Linked DNA regions of Homo sapiens: region 1 is linked to region 2. The links are contacts of gene promoters, found by promoter capture Hi-C in human tissues and cell types (Jung and others, 2019). All regions are on one chromosome and are shown on one strand. The core of a region is centred on a gene start or on the middle of the fragment in contact, and the rest is flanking DNA. Distances in the headings are between cores, read along the strand shown. Region 1 holds the start of BRD3 (bromodomain containing 3). Region 2 holds the start of REXO4 (REX4 homolog, 3'-5' exonuclease).

What was found. The method cuts DNA at HindIII sites, captures the fragments that hold promoters and counts their contacts. A contact is called where the count stands out against the background at its distance.
Region 1: the fragment with the promoter of BRD3 here is called in contact with the fragment with the promoter of REXO4 in region 2 in 1 of the 25 tissues and cell types used here (IMR-90 fibroblasts).

What each region holds. Positions count from the first base shown.
Region 1 is chr9:134,062,275-134,070,006 of GRCh38, reverse strand. BRD3 (bromodomain containing 3) reads left to right here and starts at 1,981. Exons shown (of 12, transcript NM_007371.4): 1 at 1,981-2,062. RefSeq lists silencers at 1,376-2,105, 2,286-2,535 and an enhancer at 6,507-7,418. The HindIII fragment of the contact is 16,877 bases long and covers 1-3,536 here.
Region 2 is chr9:133,413,032-133,420,693 of GRCh38, reverse strand. It overlaps REXO4 (REX4 homolog, 3'-5' exonuclease), which reads left to right and starts at 2,684. Exons shown (of 8, transcript NM_020385.4): 1 at 2,684-3,074; 2 at 5,683-6,029. The coding sequence starts at 2,850. It also overlaps a transcript of ADAMTS13 not described here. RefSeq lists an enhancer at 2,370-2,589 and a silencer at 2,700-2,939. The HindIII fragment of the contact is 5,032 bases long and covers 1-4,876 here.

The sequences.
Region 1 (7,732 bases), core at 732-3,231, 650 kb before region 2:
AATGGGTTGCAGCCTCCAAGGTGGCTAACACAGAAGCCTGTAGGTTGAGGAACTGCACCGGGGGTTTGGGGACACAACCAGGATGGTAGTTCTAAGGGAACTGCCTGCAGATCCTCACCTCTCATATTCCCCCTCCCCGACCTTCCTGCGCCTGAGGACTGCACTTTGTCCATTTTGCCAACTAGAAAGGCAAGGCTGGAACCTCGTCCTAGAGCCTTGCCCTGGAGTGTGAGAAGGTCCTGGGCTCCCAGCAGAAACAGAGGGACAGGATTGGGAAAGGTGTTGGCTTCCCCTGCAAACTCTTCCTAAGACCCCGGGGCTTTGGGTCTCAGCCGTCCTGCAAATTGGCTCTGTGACCTTGGGCAGGACCCTTTGCCTCACTGAGCCTGTTTCCTTACCTGTCAGCCTGGAACAGAACACCTGCCTTCTGGGTGAGCATGGGGATGAATTGTCTCTGTGCTGGCACTCACTTTGTGAATATTGCATAGATGTGTGCATTTCAGGCAGTGGAGCTGCTGCTCAACTTGGAACACACCTGGGGACCCCAGGGGCTTGGGGTGGGTGCAGCCCACACAAGGAAACTCGACCTTGCAGTTGGCAGGTTCAGCAGGCACCAAGGAACCTCGTTTTGTTTTTGACGTTTTTATTGGGGTCTAATGTACACAACGTGTAACCACCTTAAGTTACAGCTGGATTAAAATTGATTTATGTGGCCGGGTGCGTTGGCTCACGCTTGTAATCCCAGCACTTTGGGAGTCCGCGGTGGGCGGATCATCTCACGTCAGGAGTTTGAGAACAGCCCAGTCAACACGGTGAAACCCCATCTCTACTAAAAAATACAAAAATTAGCCGGGCGTGGTGGCGGGTGCCTGTAATCTCAGCTACTCGGGAGGCTGAGCCAGGAGAATGGCTTGAACCCGGGAGGCGGACGTTGCAGTGAGCCGAGATCGAGCCACTCACTACACTACAGCACTCCAGCCTGGGTGACAAGAGCGAAACTAACGTCTCAAAAAAAAAAAAAAAAAACAAAAACCAAAAAAACAACAAAACCCCCCCCCCCACAACTTGATTTATGTGTAAACCCGAGTCGTCATCACCCAAAACAAGATGCAAAACGTGTCCACGGGCTGAACCTTTCAAGATACAGAAAAAGGGCCAGGGGTGGCCCTCTCCCGGAATCTCAGGCTGGGAACCTGGTATCTAGTTCCCGCCCCTCACTGGGCAGATGGGGAAACCGGGGCTTGGGGCGAGAAGGTCCCCAGGCAGAGCTGGGAGCACCCCTAACTCTTCGCCAGCTCTGGGGACTTGGCGCCCTCTCCAGCAACAGCGAACTTGGGCGCCCGCGCCCCAGCAAGTCGGGTGGGGGAGATGGTGACACGGAGGGCGCGGCAGAGCGCGGCTCCTCCCCGGGCGGGGCCGACCTGCCCGCGCGCACCGACGCCCCGCCCCCCGCCCCGCGCGCGCGCTCCCGCCAGGCTAATTAGGCGCGCGGTTTGTTTACAAACACGGGCTCCCGGCAGGTGCGCGCCGCCCCGCCCGTGCGCGGCCGGGGTTCGAGGGTGGCTCCCGCGGGCCTCGGGGTGCCCGGACGGGGGCTGCGGTGCTGGCTGCGTGCCCGCTTCTTCCATGCCGTCCTGGGGCACCGGAAAATCCGCCGCCAGGCGCTGTCCCCGACACGGGGTGAGGAGAGCCGTGCGGGCCCGGGCGGGGAACGGCCCACGGGGTCCCAGCGTTGTTGCCCTGCCGGGCGGGCGCCGAGCCCCGCCCCCGCGCGCCCCCCGGGCCAGGCCCGCTCTCGGCCGGGTCGGCGGGGCGGGCGGGGGCCCCCGGGGCGGGGCGCGGCGCCGGCGGGGCCGGGACATGTAGTCCGCGCGCCCGCGGCCTCCCCTGGGCGGCCCCGGCGCGGGCCCGGCCGCGGACTACGACTCCCGCCAGGCGCCGCGGCGCAGCGCATGAGCCCTGCTCGGCTCCGGCGCGTCTATTATGCTGCCGGGGCCGGCGAGCCAAAGAGGAGCCGGCCGCGCGGGCCGGGAGGGGACGGCCGCCGGAGCCGCGAGGCCAAGTACGCCTTTCTCTTGCTTCCTTGCGCGCGCGGGGCGGCGGGCGGCGCGGGCGGCGGCGGGCCGGGCTGGGCCGGGGAGCGCGGCCCCGAGCGCCCCGCGCAGTCCGCCGGCGCGTCCGGGTGAACCGGGCGCCCGGGGCCGCCGCCGCCGCCGCCGCCTTTGTGCGCGGCCACGATGCAACAAAGCGCGGCGGCCGCCCGGGGTCGCGGCGGCGGTGGCGGCGGCGGTGGCGCGGGCTCCGCTCCCCTCCTCCCGCTCCCGCTTGGCCGCCTCCGTCCCGGACTCGGGGCGTCGCTGCGGCCGGGGCGCGCAGCCCGGAGTTGGCGCGGCCCGCGCGCCCCGCGCCAGCCCGGCCTCCGCGCGCCCTCCCTCACGGAAGGGATTTTTTTCCCCCTTTCCTCCGCCCGCCATCTTTCGAAGGGGGAACCCAGGGAGGACGCGGAGGGGGAAGGTGCGCGCGGCGGCCCCGGCCTGCGGCCGTGCGCTCCGCGGGGCCACTTTCCCCGCGCCTGTTCCGCCGGCCTCGCTCCCGAGCCGTTGCTGGGGCCCGCGCCTGGGGACCGTCGCCGCGCGCCGCGGCCGGGGCGGGGGGCAAGGCCGGGCTCGGCCCTGGGCTCTGCGCGGCCTCCTCCCAGAGTTACGGGCCCAGAGCTGACTTTGAGCCCCCCTGAGTTGCCGGATTATTGCACCCAAACCAGGGGGAGACCCAGTTCCCGTTTTGAAATCAGCCTGAAAATCGCTTAATCCGGGCGAGGGCGAGTTGGAGCGGGAGGGACGGGGGTGCTTCCCCTCCTTCCCACTTTTGGGGGGCGCCGGAGTGACAACGTGATACAAGCCCATCCGGGGAGAAATGCGCACCCCGAACCGTGTACACCCACATGGCCCTGGTGGGCTCTCTGTGAATAAAGCTGGGGCGTGCGGGAAGTCTTATTCCACCGGTTGCTCGTTCGGGGGCAGGGCCGGGATGGGGGCTTCGCGCGGCCTCCTTTCCCTGGAGGGCGAGAACTCGGCCCGCCGAGACCCACCGGGGGCAGGGACCCGGCGTCCATCGTGTGGGTTCCTCCGTTCGACCCAATCCTTGAGTGGTTGCGATCTTTAATTTTGGTTGAAAGCTTTCTGCTCAGAAATAGATACTGGGATTTCTCCCCCTTACATTAAACTTGGTCATTGTCTGCAAAAGTTAACCAGGAGGGGAGACTGTAGTGCATTGGTGGGCAGAGTAATTGGGCTGGAACTGCAAGAGGCAGCTTCGTGTGTCCCGTCCTCCCCCGCCCTACCCTGTGAGAAGGAACAGAAGAGGAAAAGAGTTTTCTTTTTACCCTGCTCTTTTGTAGGCTTTTCCCCTTACTCTTTTCTTTAAAATGGAGGGTTTTTTTTTTTTCCTGGGTCCATGTAGTATGCCTGGGGAGATCCTGGAATCTATGCAAAGTTGTATGGCATTTTTCTGGGGAAAGTAGTTTGTTACTGGCTTCCAACGGGGTCTAAGGAAGGTCTGAACCCCTGCAAGGGGCTGGCCTCGGGGGTTAGGGAGCCCTCCCTCCGGGTTCTTCCCTGGCAGCCCTGATGCAGCCTCTCATTTGCAAATAAAGGTCTGTGTTTGCCGTTTTCTCTGTTGAGGCCTTGATGGGTGCTGGTGGTTACTGATCATGAAAGATAAGGCACACGCTGTAACAGGACGGGCTGCAGGCGAGCGAGGGGCATTTCTTTCTGACCTTCCGGGTAGCCTCAGAGGCCCGGTGCCTCAGCAGGGCACCGGGTGCCTGGAAAGACTGTGGGAGCAGCTCCAGCCTGAGCCCTGCCGTTGGGACATCCGGGGAGGAGGGATTTCAAAAGCTTTCTCCGAGTGGGCAGTCACTCCATTTTTATTTTTGTTTTGTTTTTAGAAAGTAGAGTAATTACTTTCCTTTGACAACAGCTCGCGCCTGCTTCGGAAGTGAGTGAGCTTTGAATGAAGGACGGGACTTGCAAACAGTGCCTGCCCTACACTCCGAAGTAGTCATACCCAGAAAGTGAAAGTGGGGGTGTGCAGAGCGAAGCAGCCAGGCCTGCTGCAGCCGGTGCTACCTTCCTCTACCCTCTTCCTCCAGGCTCTGGAGATGCCAGCCGCGGGAGCCCTGTGCACCAGGCGGCAGTGATGGCCTTGTGCGATTCCTGGTGCCACCAGGAAGTGCCACCACTTTCCCTGAGGCATGGTGGCTCAGGGTTTCCCAAGTGGGGTGATTGGCACAAAACCAACAGCTATGCCCAGTTGTCGATGGGAAGAGCCATGTTTTGCTGTGGATACACACGGTACCGGGGCGGGGTATGGGGAACCGGGGCCTACTCTTCCCAGCGTTGCTGCCTGGGAGGTGGGGGCATGCCTGAAGTCGTGCTGCGGGTCTCTTGGTTTTCAAAGCAGTTAACGCAGTTGGTCAGAGGATCCTCCTCTTGCTTCCTTGACCGGTCATCAAAGTATAACTGACCTGACGGGGTTCCTGTCCTAGGCAGGTTCCTTTTTTTTTTTTTTTCTCTTCTCCTCTTGAGATGGAGTCTCGCATTGTTGCCCAGGCTGGAGTGCAGTGGCACGATCTCAGCCCACTGTAACCTCTACCTCCCGGGTTCTAGCAATTCTCCTGCTTCAGCCTCCCAAGTAGCTGGGATTACAGGCGTCCGCCACCACGCCCAGCTAATTTTTTGTATTTTTAGTAGAGACAGGGTTTCACTGTGTTGGACAGGCTGGTCTCGAACTCCTCACCTCGTGATCCACCTGCCTTGGCCTCCCAAAGTGCTGGGATTACAGGCATGAGCCACCGTGCCTAGCCAGCAGGTCCCTTATATCACGAAGCCAGTATCTGGTTGAAGCTAGAAGGTAACTGGATGAATCATGGTAGAATGCAAGGCTTCTTGCCGTAAAAGGTTTTGGAACTTGCGGGTCTGCCTTGGGCCTTCCCGACCCCTGTGGCTCCGCCCCCTTGTTGGAGCAGAAGAGATGCACAGGTAGCAAAGCATGATGGGGTGCCAGGTGCATTTGGGTCAGCGTTTGCCAAGAATGGCCTTGCTCCTGTGTTTTTGTTGGTACTGCCACCTTGTAGAGGTGCCCAGCTGGTGGCGGAGCATAGGGTTTTCTTTGCCTATTCTCCTTCCTGTGAAATCATGGGCACAGACATCATGGGCCCCTGTGCCCGGGCCTCCCTGCTCTGGTTCCTGGGCTCCTGCCATCTGAGAGGCTTGAGGGCTTGCTTATTTGTTTGTTTGTTTGTATTTTTAGTAGAGATGGCGTTTCACCATGTTGGCCAGGCTGGTCTCAAACTCTTGGCCGTGAGTGACCCACCCGTCTCTGCCTCCTGAAGTGCTGGGATTACAAGCGTGAGCCACCATGCTCGGCCAAGATGCTTGAGAGCTCATTTATTTATTTACTTATTTTGAGACAGAGTATCACTCTGTTGCCCAGGCTGGTGTGTAATGGCATGATTTCCCTTCACTGCAACCTCCACCTCCTGGGTTCAAGCAATTCTCCCTGGCTCAGCCTGCCAAGTAGCTGGGATTACAGGTGCCCGCCACCACGCCTGGCTATTTTTTTTAATTTTTTTTAATTTTTTAGTAAAGATGGGGTTTCGCCATGTTGGCCGGGCTGGTCTTGAACTCCTGACCTCAGGTGATCCACCCATCTCAGCCTCCCAAAGTGCTGAGATTACAGGTGTGAGCCACCATGCCTGACCGAGAGCTCTTTTAAAGAGAAAGTGTCACTTTGGGCCATTCACCTGTTGGTGGTTTAAATTGTAAGTCTTCTGGCCACTCCTGATTGAGCTCGCAGTGGAGCCAGGACCTGTGCGTGTGGCTGGAGGCTCGGACCCTGTTGTGTCCGTGCTGTTGGCTGTCTGCGTCTCGCACCAGTCTGTGGCTGTTCCCTGAGAGTCAGTTCGCAGGCTGCCTCCTCACAGGGCCTTCGGAGCCTGGTGTTGGGAAGATGGGGCGTGGAACATGCCCCCGCCCCCCTCCTTGCCGCAGGCCCCCAAGGTACTGAGTTCGTCAGAAGTTAATCCGGTATTGTGGGAGACAACTTTTCCAGCCACTTGGAAAAGTGTCCCGCTGAGGGTGCAGTGATGTTCAGGAGTCGCCGGCTGGATCTTTCTGAGTGTGGCTTGATAACCAGCTGCAGCATTTTGCAAAGCACCCAGTGGACTCGGGTGTGATCTGCAGAGGCGGCTGCTGGCCAGGCCTGGAGTCTGGGGCAGAGGGAGTGCCCTCAGTGCACCTGTGAGGACCTGGGACTAAGAGTCGGTACCTGGGAGCTGTGGGACTCTGGGGCGGGACGGCCTTAGCCTCCGTGTGAGCACTGACCGAGATGAGGCACAGATGCATCTGTGTGAGGTGCCCGGCCCCTGCAGGAGTGCTGAGTATTGTAGCTATAACCTGTCATGTGGCAGAAGGAAGAATCTACTATAAGCGGCTGAGAGGATGCCCTCCCTGTGCCATGCGTCACTGGAGCCTTGGCCTGACAATCCCACAAGGAGCAAAATGTGCAAAGGGGCAGCTGTGTGAGCCTGCGGGTCCAGGGTGCCACCCGCCCCCATCTGCCCACACCACAGGACAGAGCCCTGGGTATGCTGACCAGGCCCTCGCTGGTACCAGGGGCTGGGTAGGAGGCAAGGGTCAAGCACGGTGGCTCCGTGGGCTGTGGACTCACAGACAGATGTGCTGCATGCCCACGCTTTGCTCTTAGCTCTGCCTCCGGTCTGTCCCGGCAACAGGCCTGGGGGCGTCCTGCAGTCCTCGGCATTTGTGGTTGGGGGTGAGCAGAGAACATAGACGAAATAACCAAGGGGATGGTCTGAGAGCTGCGGCCCTGCTGGCCCCTTGTCCTGGCTCGGCATGGCTGAGTGGGACAGCAGTGAGGCCAGGCCTGTCTCCTGGGGCCGGGGTGTTTTGTGAGTTTGGTTCTTGTCAGGCCGGCTGAGAGGAGATGGAGCAGACAGATGGATGCTAGGTGGGCCTGCCGCAGCTTTGTTTTAGGAAGTGCGGAGCACCAGGGCCTGACCCTGAGGCTGTGTCCCTCTAAGAGCACGGTGTCTCCTTCCCTCTAAAGGGCCAGGTGCTGTCCTCACTCACTGCCCCTCTGAAGAGAGTCCCCTGCCTGAGTCGTGGCTCTCCTGCCCTTCCCAGACCCGTGGGAGACCCTGACTACGTGGCGGTGGCCTGGGGTTGGGAGGGCCTGACCAGTGTCTGTGGGGCCAACTTCCTCGTTCCCAGCATGTGTGGAGGGTCGGGCCTCCTCACGCGCCTCATGAGGGTCCCACGGGGGTAGAGCGTCCTTTGAGTCCTCTCTATTCGAGGAGTGGGTAGAGAGGCGGGTAGGGACGGAGCTTGGAAGAGGTGACGGGTTGTGGCCAGAAGGCTGTGGGGGCGTCATGGCAGGAAGGGAAACCTTCAGAGAGGCCGCTCACCCAGGGCCGTGGGGCCATGGAGAAGCACAGGCCCTGGGTTCAGAAAGCAGGAGGCATATGAGGTCTTAGGTCTAGAAGGCACTGGTGGGTGCAGAGTGGGGAGAACTGTGGGGTGCAGGGGACAGTCACGGGAGAGGCAGCGCTGGCAGCTGCACCTGCCCAGCGTGTCTGGGGCCATGCCCCAGGATAGCCCCACCAGTCTGCTGAAGCGCCCCGGGACAGGGCTGGGCCTGTAGAGCCGGGCCC
Region 2 (7,662 bases), core at 1,435-3,934:
ATTCTGCGTTCCTGGAAAGCCCCCACTCTCACTTAACTCTGGGATGGTTTCACAGCTATCTGTTCCTGTTTATGCCGCCAGAATCAACCCATCGACTGTGACCTGCATCGACCAATCTGAACTCAGCAAGTATTAACCAATCAGAACTAAGCAAGTGTGCCTTCCTCATTTGCATAAGTGGACCAAAGTGGGAACCTGGGCAGGAAGTTCTCTACAAAAGACGACCTCTTTCTTTGTTCTCTTTGTTCCCTGGAATGCACCTTTGTACAGAAGGCTGCATTGCCCTGGTTTACAAACTGCTGGAACAAAGTTTTTTTCCTTTTTTAAAAAGAAAACCTGGGCCAGGTGTGGTGGCTCACGCCTTTAATCCCAGCACTTTGGGAGGCCGAGGCAGGTGGATCACGAGGCACGCGGATCATGAGGTCAGGAGTTCGAGATCAGCCTGGCCAGCATAGTGAAACCCCGTCTCTTTTCAAAAATACAAAAATTAGGCTAGGTGCGGTGGCTCACGCCTGTAATCCCAACACTTTGGGAGGCTGAGGCGAGAGGATCACCTGATGTCTGGAGATCCATACCAGCCTGGCCAACATGGAGAAACCCCATCTCTACTAAAAGTACAAAATTAGCCGGGCGTGGTGGCACATGCCTGTAATCCCAGCTACTCGGGAGGCTGAGGCAGAAGAATCACTTGAACCCGGGAGGTGGAGGTTGCGGTGAGCCGAGATTGCGCCATTGCACTCCAGCCTGGGCGACAAGAGCATAACTTCGTCTCAAAAAAAAAAAAAAAATTAGCTGGGCATGGTGGCGTGCACCTGTAGTTCCAGCTACCCAGGAGGCTGAGGCAGGAGAATCGCTTGAACCCGGGAGGTGGAGATTGTGGTGAGCCGATATCACGCCACTGCACTCCAGCCTGGGCAGCAGAGCAAGACTCCGTCTCAAAACAAACAAAAAAAAAGAAAACCCTTTTCGGTGGACTTGCTGACAATCTCAGTGCCATATCTGGTTCCCATCTCTCTGTCCTCGTCCTTCTCAGCCTCTCAGCAGCATCTGATGTGGTTTATTCTCCCCCTGGATTCTCTGATGCCACTCACATCCGCTTCTCCTCCCACTGCACTGACTGCTCCCCCTCAGCCTCCTCTGCTGCTTCGCCCCTGGAGAGCCCCCAGCACCTGCTATCTGGTCTTAACCCTTCACTCCCTATATTGGTACTCTCTCTTTGGATGAACTAACCCAGGTTCATGTTTCAACACTAATTATGTGCTGACGATTTCCAAATTACATCTCCAGCACTGACCCTTCCCTAAGCTTAGGAATCTTATATCCTGCTGCTGATTAGACGTCTCTCCTTGGTGACTGACGGCCCGTTCAAACTCAGCAAGTGTGAAAAGGAGCTCATGGCTCCACCCCCATACTTCACCCTGCTCCCCGCAGACATTTATTGAGATGATAAATGGCCACACCCAATTGCTCAGACCAAAATCCTAGGAGCCTCACTTCCCTGTTACTCCATCAACCTCTGCCTGTTACACACGCACATCAAATCTACCCACTCCCGGCCGGGCACGGTGGCTCACACCTGTAATCCCAGCGCTTTGGGAGGCCGAGGCGGATGGATCACTGGAGGTCAGGAGTTCAAGACAGCCTGGCCAACGTGGCGAAACCCCAGGTCTACTAAAAATACAAAAATTGGCAGAGAGTGGTGGCGTGCACCTATAGTCCCAGCTACTCAGGAGGCTGAGGCAGGAGAATCGCTTGAACCCAGGCGGCAGAAGTAAGGGAGGAGACCACCCCTCATATTGTCTTATGCCCAATTTCTGCTTCCAAATAAAGAAGTAAAAACTAAAAGGCAGAAATAAAATCCACAGGCAGACAGCCCGGCGCCGCGCCCTGGGCCTGGTTAAAGATCAATCCTTGACCTAACCGGTTATGTTATCTATAGATTTCAGACATTGTATGGAAAAGCATTGTGAAAATCCCTGTCCTGTTCTGTTGCGTTCTGATTACCGGTGCATGCAGCCCCCAGTCACGTACCCCCTGCTTGCTCAATCGATCACGACCCTCTCACACAGACCCCCTTAGGGTTGTAAGCCCTTAAAAGGGACAGGAATTGCTCACTCAGAGAGCTCGGTTTTTGGAGACGTGAGTCTGCCGATGCTCCCCACTAAATAAAGCCCTTTCCTTCTACAATTCGGTGTCTGAGGGGTTCTTGTCTGCGGCTCGTCCTGCTACAGAGTGAACTGGCAGGAACTCCTCCCGGTGCCTGGGCCTCAGTTTCCCCACTGTACGTGGAAGATGAGCCGCTGTGAGGCTGAGCAAGGAGCAGCCCAAGGCGGGAAAGGCTCGAGAGTCCAGGACGCAGGCGAGCGACCTAGCCCGGCTCTCACTAGCCCCACCGCCCAGTGCCCCCAGCTCAGCTGCCCTACCAGGTGCTACACACACAGCGGCCCCCCAGTTCCCTTCCGGCGTTCGCATCTCTCATCCCCATCCCGGATCTTGGGGAGGTCCTCGGCTTGCCCCAGTCAAACTCGAGGTCGATGACCCCGGATGCCGCTGGCTAAGGCGGCGGCCCAAGTCCCGTGCGGGTGAACCGCCCAGGCTGCGCGGAACCAGAGGCAGGGATCCGGTTTCCAGCCGGTTGTGGAGAGACGAGCGCTTCCGGGGACTGGAGCGTGCGTGCTGAGGTATGCGCAACGCGTGCGGGGTCTCTTCCGGAGTCTTTTCCTGGACGGGGTCCCTGCGGTGGGTGTGTTTCGGCCTGGCCTGGGCAGGCGCTTGTGCTGCCAGGGCGCCGGGCCCGGGGAGGCCGGGGTCTCGGGTGGCCGCCGGCCCAGGCGCTGGACGGCAGCAGGATGGGGAAGGCGAAGGTCCCCGCCTCCAAGCGCGCCCCGAGCAGCCCCGTGGCTAAGCCGGGTCCTGTCAAGACGCTCACTCGGAAGAAAAACAAGAAGAAAAAAAGGTTTTGGAAAAGCAAGGCGCGGGAAGTAAGCAAGAAGCCAGCAAGCGGCCCCGGTGCTGTGGTGCGACCTCCAAAGGCACCAGAAGACTTTTCTCAAAACTGGAAGGCGCTGCAAGAGGTGAGGCTTGAGGGGGCCCGGGCGGAGCGCTGCGCAGCTCATTCCCGCAGAACGCGACGGAGGGAAAGACTTGGGTAGCCCCAAAAGACCTGTAAAGGCAGATTTGAATCGAAATCTTGTAAACAGCTTTTCACAAGAAAGGTGGCCTGTTGAGGGAGGTCTCGAACTTGTTTGCTTGAAAGAAATTGATGAAAGAATTATTTCAAGTACAAAAAAGCAAAGATAAACCCTTGTACCTTTTGCATAATGAACTAACTAGAATGGATTTTACAAAGAGAAATTTAGCTTAAAATCCCGAAACCAGGCCGGGCGCGGGGCCTCACGCCTGTGATCCCAGCACTTTGGGAGGCCGAGGCGGGCAGATCCCCTGAGGTCAAGAGTTCAAGACCAGCCCGGCCAACATGGTGAAACCCCGTGTCTACTAAAAAAGTACAAAAAATATTAGCCGGGCGTGATGGCGCGCGCCGGTAGTCGCAGCTACTCGGGGAGCCTGAGGCAGAAGAATCGCTTGAACCCGGGAGGCAGAGGCAGTAGTAAGCCGAAATCGCGCCACTGCACTCCAGCCTGGGCGACAGAGCGAGACTCCATCTCAAACAACAACAACGAAAGAACACACTGGTCTGTGTAGCAAGACAGGGAGAAAGAAGATTCCTGTGTAGAAGTGAAAAGCAGATAGCAGACATGTGATGGGGTTCTAGCGACACTTACGGTCTTGAAGTAAATACTAATTGAGCTCCTAAAAATGTGCACTCTGCCATGTGCTCTATGCCATGCGTGTTGCAATCCCCACAATAAGACTGTGAGGTGGACACTTCCATCATCGCTATTGTACAGATGAGGAAATAGGCTGGAAAAGTTTAAATAGATCATCTAAGATTGCGGCTGGGAACCAGGTGGCTGACTCTGGAGTCCATGCTTTTAAGGCTGTGTTGTACCTGCTGTCTCCCTAGTGACCTGCACTTCTGTAGAGGTTGCCTGCTCTCTCCTAGACACTCTTCCACGTGCGTCACTCATACATTCTTACCACATCCCTTGGAGCTCCCTTGGAGCTACCTCCTGTTAGGATCATAGCTCACTGCTGCCTGGGCTCCAGTGATTCTCCTGCCTCAGCCTCCCGAGTAGCCCACACGTGTAATCCCAGCACTTTGGGAGGCCCAGGCAGGAGGATCACTTGAGCTCAGGAGTTCAAGTCCAGCCTGGGCAACATGGTGAGATTCCATCTCTAAATAAAAGTAAAAAGTAGTTTTTTTAAAAAAGAAATGTGATCCCCAGTGGTGGAGATGGGGCCCATAGGAGGTATTGGGTCATGGGGGTAGATCCCTCATGAATGACTTGGTGCCCTCCCCTCAGTAACGAGTAAGTTCTCACTCTGCTGGTTCATTTGAGAGCTGGTTGTTTAAAAAGAGCCTAGCACCTTTTTTGCTTGCTCTCTCACCACGCAACACACCTGCTCCCCCTTCACCTTACACCATGATGGGAAGCTTCCTTCGGCCTCACCAGAAGCAGATGCTGGCACCATGCTTCTTGTACAACCTGCAAAACCATGAGCTACATAAACGTTTTTTCTTTATAAATTACCAAACACAGGTATTCCTTTATAGCAGTGCACAATGAACTAATACAGATGGGGTTTCACTTTGTTGCCCAGGCTGGTCTTCAACTCCTGACCTCAAGCAATCCTCCCACCTCAGCCTCCCCGAGCGCTTCTTGAACCTCCTAATACTCTGCACAGTATCTCAGTGCAGACATTCCTGTCTTAACACACAGGACCAGTCAAATTCCCGTGGGCAGCCCCAGGGTTCTGTGGGATTTCTTGAACACCAACTCTTCTTCCTTCTCCCAAGAAAGAAAAGCAAAATAAGTGAATGGAAGGGATGTGTGCTATAGGGAAACTTTGGAGTGTTTTCTAATTCATCCAAGAAAGTCAGCCCTTCAGTTCTTTACCTATCACAGAACAGGTAAGTAGCACCCGCCTCATCATCGCACTGTGGTGGCGCCCACTCCCACTGGGGATTTGAACACAGGGAGGAAGCTGGGCTCTAAGACTACAGGAGCCTCTGCTTGGGTGACAGCCAAGGTGTGTGGCTGCTAGCAGTTCTTCAGCCACTCCAGTTTGACAGAAGCTTTTCTTTTCATTTATGACACCCCCCACCTTCCTGAGATCTTCACAGCAGTAGCAAACCAGGGAATCTTGTAAAAAAAAAAAAAGCGATTTCTGTGTAGCAGGATGTTGGCCCAAGCTGTGAGGGAAGTTAACTCCAAAATTCTTTCTAGATAAGCTGAAAAGGGAAGTGGTCTGTGGTGTCCAGCCACTCAACAGGTACCCAAGGTGTAGAATGAGTTTGACATTTTGTATGCATGAAGGAGCAGGTGCAAAATGCATTATAATAAGATAAGCAAAGAAACAGCATTTCACCACAAGTGACCCATGAGAATGAAAAAGAGCTTTTTCCAAACCGTTTGAAAATGAATTTCAGTGATGCGGATGGGAATTGTATAGATGTGTTTGGTGTATATGTGTGTATATACATACACACGTAAGTTTTTTCAATCTGCTGTGTGTAATTTCCAAATTCAAATGCAGCATGTATTTTATTTTGGGTCCCAGTGGCTGCTGAAACAAAAATCTCAGGCCCCAGAAAAGCCTCTTGTCATCTCTCAGATGGGTTCCAAAAAGAAGCCCAAAATTATCCAGCAAAACAAAAAAGAGACCTCGCCTCAAGTGAAGGGAGAGGAGATGCCGGCAGGAAAAGACCAGGAGGCCAGCAGGGGCTCTGTTCCTTCAGGTTCCAAGATGGACAGGAGGGCGCCAGTACCTCGCACCAAGGCCAGTGGAACAGAGCACAATAAGAAAGGAACCAAGGAAAGGACAAATGGTGATATTGTTCCAGAACGAGGGGACATCGAGCATAAGAAGCGGAAAGCTAAGGAGGCAGCCCCAGCCCCACCCACCGAGTAAGTATGGGCCACCTCACCACTGAGAACCGAGGCACAGCGACTTCACCAAGGCCTGTCTCCTTATGGAGGCTGGTGGCCTCACCGCAGTCTCTCCATCACTTTACCCTGATGTCGTCTGTTCCTTTGTTTACTCGCTGTTACTTGTTTTCCCCTAGAGTGTGCGCATGATAAGGCAGGGCCTGCTTCTTCCGAGCGTTGAGCAGAGCTCAGCATTTAGTGGGTGCCAGTACACGTGTGTGGAAGGAAAGCGTGCTGAAGCCAGAAAGACCCAAGTATGAGGCCTGTCCCTGCTTCTCGCCAGTTGGGTGGTTTGGGGCAAGTTTCTGACGTCCTCTGTGCCTTGTGGTAGTCATGGTGGCATCATAAGGAGATTGTGAGGTTGGCACTCTTGGCTCAGTGCCTGGTGATTACTTCAACCCTGTGATGGAGCCAGGTGTGGTGGCTGTTGCCTGTGATCCCAGCTCCTTGGGAGGCCAAGGTGGGAGGATCACTTGATCCCAGGAGGTTGAGGCTGCAGTGAGCTGTGATTGCACTACTGCCTCCAGCCTGGGTGACGGAGCAAGACTCTCAAAAAAACAAGTGAAAAGAATAAACCCTGTGCTGGCCACCCACGTGGGGTGGACCGGGAGTCAGTGGCCTTCTCTGAATGGTTCAGCTGGAGGTGACGTGTTCATAAGTTACAGCTGGCTTCATGTTGCCTGGGTGTTCAGGACACAGTCGCTGATGGCTGAGGAATGAGCCATTTGGGGGCCTCCCTGTGTTGTGCTAGGCAGGCTGTCTGGGATAGAGTTCAGTGAGGTGGGCCTGCTCCTCCCTCTTGAGGCTTATTGTCAAGTGCAGTAGACAGACTGTAAACTGCAGCTGTTGATTAAGTGTGGTCAGGATAAATCTAGTGAGGAGAAGGTATTGGGCGCCTGGAACAAGAGGGACGTGTCCATTCAGTGGGGCCAGGAATGGCTTTTCTAAGGAAATGACATTTAACCTTAGCCCAAGAGACAGATTCCCCAGGCAGGTGTTACGTGCCTGTGTGAGCTTCCTAGTACGGAGGGCAAGGGGTTCTGTGTTTCCATCTTACAGGCATTCTGTCTGTCTGTTTCCTAAGTGTTCAATAATGAACGTGTTACCTTCATAATTAAAATGTTAGCACTCATTACACTTGGGTGGTGGGTTATGTGTTTCTGTTTTATATTCTTTGTGTTTGTCTGTGTTCCTAAATCTTGAATAATGAGTGTATTTTCTAATTAAAAAGAAAAGAGATGAGGCCAGGTGCTGTGACTCACACCTGTAATCCCAGCTCTTTGGGAGGCCGAGGCAGGTGGATCACTTGAGGTCAGGAGTTCAAGACCAGCCTGGCCAACATGACGAAACCCCGTATCTACTGAAAATACAAAAAATTAGCCAGGCGTGGCAGTGGGCGCCTGTAAAATCCCAGCTACTAGGGAGGCTGAGACAAGAGAATCACTTGAACCTGGGAGGCAAAGGTTGCAGTGAGCCAAGATCATGCCACTGCACTCCAGGTTGGGTGACCCAGTGAGACTCCATCTCAAAAAAAAAAGGAAAATGCCAAGATGATCAAAATAGCAGAAGCAGCAGGGCCAGCAGTCGGGGTGTCTGGGGCCAGCCTGTGGGA